Regions from separate parts of the Homo sapiens genome. Here region 1 is linked to region 2. The links are contacts of gene promoters, found by promoter capture Hi-C in human tissues and cell types (Jung and others, 2019). All regions are on one chromosome and are shown on one strand. The core of a region is centred on a gene start or on the middle of the fragment in contact, and the rest is flanking DNA. Distances in the headings are between cores, read along the strand shown. Region 1 overlaps MYO5A (myosin VA). Region 2 holds the start of MYO5C (myosin VC).

Region 1 (3,247 bases), core at 441-2,940, 190 kb before region 2:
TATAATTCCTTAATATTATCAAATATCAAGCCAGTGTTTGCATTTCCTATTGTCTCATAAATGTCATATTCTTTTTGTCTACTTTGTTCTAATCAAGGTTCAGGTATTGCAACTGGTTGACACTTATTGTAAGTCTCAAGCTATAGGTTCGTACTCTATCTCTTTTTCTTTTCTTTTTTCCTTGAAATTTATTTTGTTGAAAAAACTGGATCATTTTTCCTGCATAGTTTCCCGCAGTCCAGTTTTTGCTAATTATGTTGCCATGGTGTAGTTCAATGTGTTGCTTTGTAAATTAGTAGTTGGATCTAGATGCTTCGTGTATGAGTTTTTGAAAGCCCAATGCCTTCATATATCCTGAGGATATGCCTTAATTTCCGTTTGATTAATGTTTGCCAAGAACATTGATGTACTTGGATAAAAGGGGATTAAACAGTAAATATCTTTGTTTTTGTTAGCATGAGACAGATCTTCTGACACTTGGAGCCTGACTCATGTTACTTTAGAGAATCCAATAAAAAATACATGGCTTAGTGTTCATTACTTGCTTTTCAGGAGGTAACCCTGGCGGGGATCTCTGAGCAAAAGCTGGCTTTAATTATCTAGAGTTGGTACAGTGTCATTGTGACTAGATATTATGATGTAGGTGGAAATGTGGGGTTTTCTTATTTTTTAAAGACTCTATAAAAACAAAATATTAATAGAAAACATCAGAACCCTACTAAAAATTGTAGACCCCCACATGCATTAATTTTCTATGCAATGAAATCCTTCAGTACCTTAGTAATGAAGTTCTAATTAATGAGTTACTTAAGTCCCTCTTAATTCAACTTGGTAGGAATAATCCAACAGCCAAGGCCCAATGTAGTTATCATCGTAGGTCATCTTTGGAGATGTGCCTTTTTTGAAACAGCTGGATGGTTGGGCGTTTAATAAATATTTAGAATGTAAATGTATACTTAAATTTAAAAAAATTAAATTGTAAAATACACATAACGTAAGTTAACCATCTTAACCATGTGTAAGTGTACAGGTCAGTAATGTTAAGTACATTCATATTGTTGTACAACCAGGCCAGGCATGGTGCTCACACCTATAATCCCAGCACTTTGAGAGGCTGGGGCAGGAGGATCCCTTGAGCGCAGGAGTTCAAGACCAGCTTAGGTAACATAGTGAGACCCCGTCTATACAAAAAATAAAAAAATTAGCTGGATGTGGTGGCTGCACCTCTAGTTATAGCTACTTGGGAGGCTGAGGTGGGAGGATTGCTTGAGCCCAGGAGTTTGAGGTTGCAGTGAGCTGTGATCATCACACCACTGCACTCCAGCCTCGGCAACAGAATGAGACCCTGTCTCAAACAACAACAACAACAACAACATATTGTTGTACAACCAATCTCTAAAACTCTTCATCTTGCAAAACTATATCCCTGTACCCATTAAACAATAACTCCCTATTCCCCACTCCCTCTAGTCCCTGGCAACCATTATTCTACTTTCTCTCCCTATGAATCTGACTACTCTAGGTACCCTATATAAGTGGAATCATATAGTATTTGTCTTTTCATGACTGGCTTATTTCATATGGCGTAATGTCCTCAAGGTTCATCCATGTCGTGACATCTTTCAGAATTTCCTCAAGGTTCATCCATGTCGTGACATCTTTCAGAATTTCCTTCTCTTTTGAGGCCAAATAATATTCTTTTGAGTAAATACACCACATTTTTGTTTAATCTATTCATCCATTGATGGACATGGGTTGCTTCCATCCTTTGGCTATTGTGAAGAATGCTGCTGTGAACATGGGTGTACAAGCATCTCTTTGAGACCTTGCTTTCAAATCTTTTGGATATATAACCAGAAGTGGGATTCCTCGGTTATATAGGAATTATATATTTAATTTTTTGAGGAACCACCATACTGTTTTCCGTACTGGCTGCACCATTTTACATTACCAGGGTGCAGAGGTTCTAATTTCTCCAGGGCACAATCGTTCTAATTTCTCCACATCCTGTCCAACTCTTGTTATTTTCTAGTTTTTTGATAGTAGGTATTCTAATAGGAGTGAAATGGTATCTCATTGTAGGCTTGATTTGCATTTCCCTAATGATTAATGATGTTCAGCATCTTTTCATGTGCCTATTGGCCATTTGTGTATCTTGTTTGGAGAAACGTCTATTCAAAGTCTTTGCTCATTTTAAAATCAGGTTGTTCATCATTGTTGCTGTTCAGCTGTAGAATTCTTTTATTTTTGTTTTAAATTTACTTAGAGACAGGTCTCACTATGTTGCCTAGGCTAGTCTTGAACTCCTGGGCTCAAGCAGTCCTCCTGCCTTGGCCTCCCAAAGTGCTGAGGTTACAGGTGTGAGCCACCATGCACAGCTGAGTTGTAGAATTCTTTATATATTCTGGGTATGAATCTTTTATCAGATATATGATTTGCAAATATTTCCTTTCATTATGTGGGTTTCCTTTTCACTCTGTTGATTGTGCCCTTTGATGCACAGAGGTTGGTTTTTTTTTTTTTTTTTAGACAAAGTCTTGCTCTGTCACCAGGCTGGAGTGCCCTGGCACGATCTTGGCTCACTGCAACCTCTGCCTCCTGGGTTCAAGCAGTTCTCCTGCCTCCGCCTCCCGAGTAGCTGGGACTACAGGTGCGTGCCACCACGCCCGGCTAATTTTTTGTATTTTTAGTAGAGACGGGGTTTCACTGTGTTAATCAGGATGGTCTTGATCTCCTGACCTCGTGATCCGCCCGCCCCGGCCTCCCAAAGTGCTGGGATTACAGGCATGAGCCACCGCGCCCAGCCGATGCAGAGAGGTTTTAAATTTATTTACCTTTTTCTTTTATTGCCTGTGCTCCTGGTGTCAGCTCCAAGAAATCAGTGCCAAATTCAGTATCATGAAGTTTTCCTCCTGTATTTTCTTCTAAGAGTCTTACAGTTTTAGCTCTTAACATTTAGGTCTTTGGTCCATTTTGAGTTAATTTTTCTATGTGGTATAAGGAAGGTTTATCTTCATTCTCTGCAGTTTTACTTTTACACTTTGGTCTAATGGTGCATGTACACGCCATGTAGAAGATAAGTTAAGGTTCTAAATTTAGTTATGCTATTGACAACTGCTTGCTGTGGAAATCTTGCTATAATGCCTCCTCCCATGGGCAGTTGTTACTGATTTATCTCATCTTTCCCCAGAGAGTTTTGCGTTTTAAGAAAGAGAAATTGTTAAATATTATTTGTTATTAAGTGTCA
Region 2 (3,310 bases), core at 651-3,150:
TTAAAGACTTGGGCTAGACATCTATTCAACATTGTTTTTTATTTCTGAGTCAAGTAGATCATGTCTATTCCTACTAACAGCTGTAGAGTTTTACATGTATATACTATTTCTTTTTTTATTTTTCTCTGCTGTCTGCCATGTATATACTATTTTATTTATTCCCCTATTGATATTTAGATGCTTCCAACTCTTTGATAAATAACTATGTTGTGATGAACATCTACTTAACTGTCTCTTTGGGTGACTGTGAGAATTTTTCTGCCTACATTTATTTTCATAACTATTCTCAAATTGCTCTCCAGGATGGCAGTATATTCCCACCAGTTATGTAAGCAAAAAAAGTTTTTATTTTTTTTATTTATTTTTTTTTTTTTTTTGAGACGGAGTCTCGCTCTGTCGCCCAGGCTGGAGTGCAGTGGCGCAATCTCGGCTCACTGCAGGCTCCGCCCCCTGGGGTTCACGCCATTCTCCTGCCTCAGCCTCCCGAGTAGCTGGGACTACAGGCGCCCGCCACCTCGCCCGGCTAATTTTTTGTATTTTTAGTAGAGACGGGGTTTCACCGTGTTAGCCAGGATGGTCTCGATCTCCTGACCTCGTGATCCGCCCGCCTCGGCCTCCCAAAGTGCTGGGATTACAGGCGTGAGCCACCGCGCCCGGCCAAGTTTTTATTTTCTCACATCCTAGGCAGTATCTGAGATTGTCTAACCTAAATGTTTTTGCCAATATGATGGGTAAAAAGCAATATCTCATTGTTGTTTTCATTTGTATTTATCTGATTACTGCTAAAGTTGACATCTCCTTGTATGCTAACAAGCCATTTAAGTGTCCCCATCTGTGAATTGCCTATTAATTTTTGTCAGTTTTAAAAATTGGATTTCTTTTCTTTAACCGATTAACAATTCTTCTATATGGAAACTACTATAACCCAACATTTTAAAGATATTATCCCTCTTTTATTCCTAATAATTTCCCGGTTTTAAGTTTTAATCGTGAATCCATCTGGAGCTTATTTTTGGATGCAGTGTTTGCCACGGATCTGCTTTTATTGTTTTTCCATATAACGGGCCCATCTAATAAATATTATTTTATTTCCCTATCTGGTCCTTAAGGCTACCGTATAATGTAGGGCCCTGCTGGGGGGCTCCAGCATGTTCCATTACTCACGTATCCGTTCTCACGCAAGTGTCACACTGTTTTAATGACTACTGCTTTGTTATGTCCCTAAATATATGGCAGGACAAATCTCTCCTCTTTGAGAATTGTCTTAGTTATACAGGGCTTTTATTCTATATGAAATATAGAATCATTGTACAATTCTCCAAAAGTTCTGTAGGATTCTGACGCCAATATATTAGGCATATATATTGATTTGGGTAGAAGTGACACCTTGACCATATTAAATATTCCCAGCCAGGAAAATGGCATGTCTCCCGTTTACCTGGGCCTTCTTTTAAGCTCTTTAAGAGAATTTTAAACATTTTCTCCACAAAGGCCAAGGGCATTTTTGCGAGTGTAATCTCTGGATACTTTATATTTTCACTAATATTGTAAATATCTTGTATTGCATAGACAATGCTCATATAAAGGACCATTACTTATTTTTGTATTTGATTTTGAATACGATGACCTTGCTGGACTCTTAACACATTTCTTTGTGTTCAGTACGTTGATTCCCTTGGGTCTTCCATTTAAATGGTCGTATCCTCTGCTCTTTGAGGAGCTAACACTCGGGCCGGGCAGCCTCCGGATGCATCTGTTCCTGCCTGGCAGCGCGCCCCGGGCCCCAACCTTCTCCACCCGCGCTCCCGCCAGGTGCAGCCGCCCGGCCCCGGCCAATGGCAGCGCCGACTAGCCGGGCCAAGCTTGGAGGGACCAATCCCGCCGCTGCCCCCTCCCCTCGCCGCCAACTCGGGAACGGGAACAGGAGGCCGTTGGAAAACTTTGGGCAAGATGGCCCGGCGGTGATTTCCGCGGCGGTCTCTCCTGCGCCCGGCCTCTGCGGCGCAGGCCCAGCCCCCGAGCCTCGCACGTTCGGCAGCCCCGGCCTGGCCCCGGCCCCTCCTGCCCATGGCGGTGGCCGAGCTGTACACGCAGGTAGGAGGGTCCGCTGGGCTCCTGGGAGCGCTGTGGGGGAGCCGGCCCTGCTAACGCTGACTCGACCTGGCGCCCGGGCCACACCTGCCACACCTGCGCACCTGACACGGCAGGGCGGGCGGGCGCGCGCTGGGGGCCGCGGAGGCGCCGCGGAGGGGCCACGGGGACCGGGGACACGAGCGAGCGTCGCCCCTCCAGGGCCCCGGCGTGCTCCGTCCCTGCCCGCGGGTAAGCCCCCTCCTGGCTCCGCTGCGCCTGGGTGCCCTGTGGGTGGGAAGACCCTGTGGGAGGGGCCGCCCCCTCCGCCGCTCCGGCCTCGGGGCCTAGAATCCCCAGTGCCCAGGGGTCGCGCGTGCGTCCCCATCTCCCGGGACTGGAGCGCCTCGGTCCCTTCCTACCACACCACGGGTGGAATCAGAGTTGCCCATGCGGACGTAGGAAGCTGAGACGCCGGCCAGTCTCCTGGCCCCTCCTGGGACCCCCTTGAACGAGCTGGCATAGAAGCTTATGGCCGCAGTGTTCGGGCTGCTTTCTAGAATTCTGTGTCTTCAAAGTGCGTGAACGTGCATGTAGGCTCATCAGAAGCTGAAGCAGCCTGGGTCACAGGCTTGAGGGCACTGCAGTGGCACCAAGCGCTTGGGGAGCCCAGGGGCCACGAGGTGCAGTCGTAGGCTCTTTGCCTAACATCTGTACTGTTAGCAACAGTACAAACACCACAGTTTCTAAAGCGCCTTTCATATACCCTGACTCTGGGAAACACTAGAGCATTCCTCAGAAGCTTCCTTTCTGCTGGCTGGGGCTCCACCTCTTACCTCGGAAGGGCAGCGTTCCCACATATGTCCCAAACCCTCTGAGATGGGCTTGGGTAATTATTTGGATAAAGAGTGTGACAGTGTTAGCACTTTTGAAAAAAAAAATCCATTTGAATAGCCATAAAGCCTGATCCTCCTATACACCAGTTGGGGAAATCTAGAGACCTCAGTATTCAGACGAGTGGAACTAGAATCCATCCATTTCCCCGGACACATGCTCTAGCTTTCTACTTTAAAAGATGCTTTTGCTGTAGATAGAAAAGATAGTTATTTAAAAAATCATGTTTCAATGGTTTAAGCAAACGTTTTTCTTCTACTTTGATTACTTAGTAACAGTCCGGACACAAAGCAACCGAACTGTAGTTTCTCCTCTATTGCATCTCCATTAACTGGAGTTCTAAATG

What was found. The method cuts DNA at HindIII sites, captures the fragments that hold promoters and counts their contacts. A contact is called where the count stands out against the background at its distance.
Region 1: a contact is called between a fragment that was not itself captured here and the fragment with the promoter of MYO5C in region 2, in 1 of the 25 tissues and cell types used here (pancreas).

What each region holds. Positions count from the first base shown.
Region 1 is chr15:52,488,842-52,492,088 of GRCh38, reverse strand. The region is part of intron 1 of MYO5A (myosin VA); the gene reads left to right. Among named protein-coding and RNA genes, the nearest start is that of MYO5A, 38 kb to the left of the region's middle. The HindIII fragment of the contact is 5,770 bases long and covers 1-3,247 here.
Region 2 is chr15:52,294,394-52,297,703 of GRCh38, reverse strand. MYO5C (myosin VC) reads left to right here and starts at 1,900. Exons shown (of 41, transcript NM_018728.4): 1 at 1,900-2,094. The coding sequence starts at 2,068. It overlaps LOC105370819 (a long non-coding RNA gene), which reads right to left and starts at 2,820. Exons shown (of 4, transcript XR_932250.3): 1 at 2,493-2,820. RefSeq lists a silencer at 2,077-2,236. The HindIII fragment of the contact is 3,447 bases long and covers 1-3,254 here.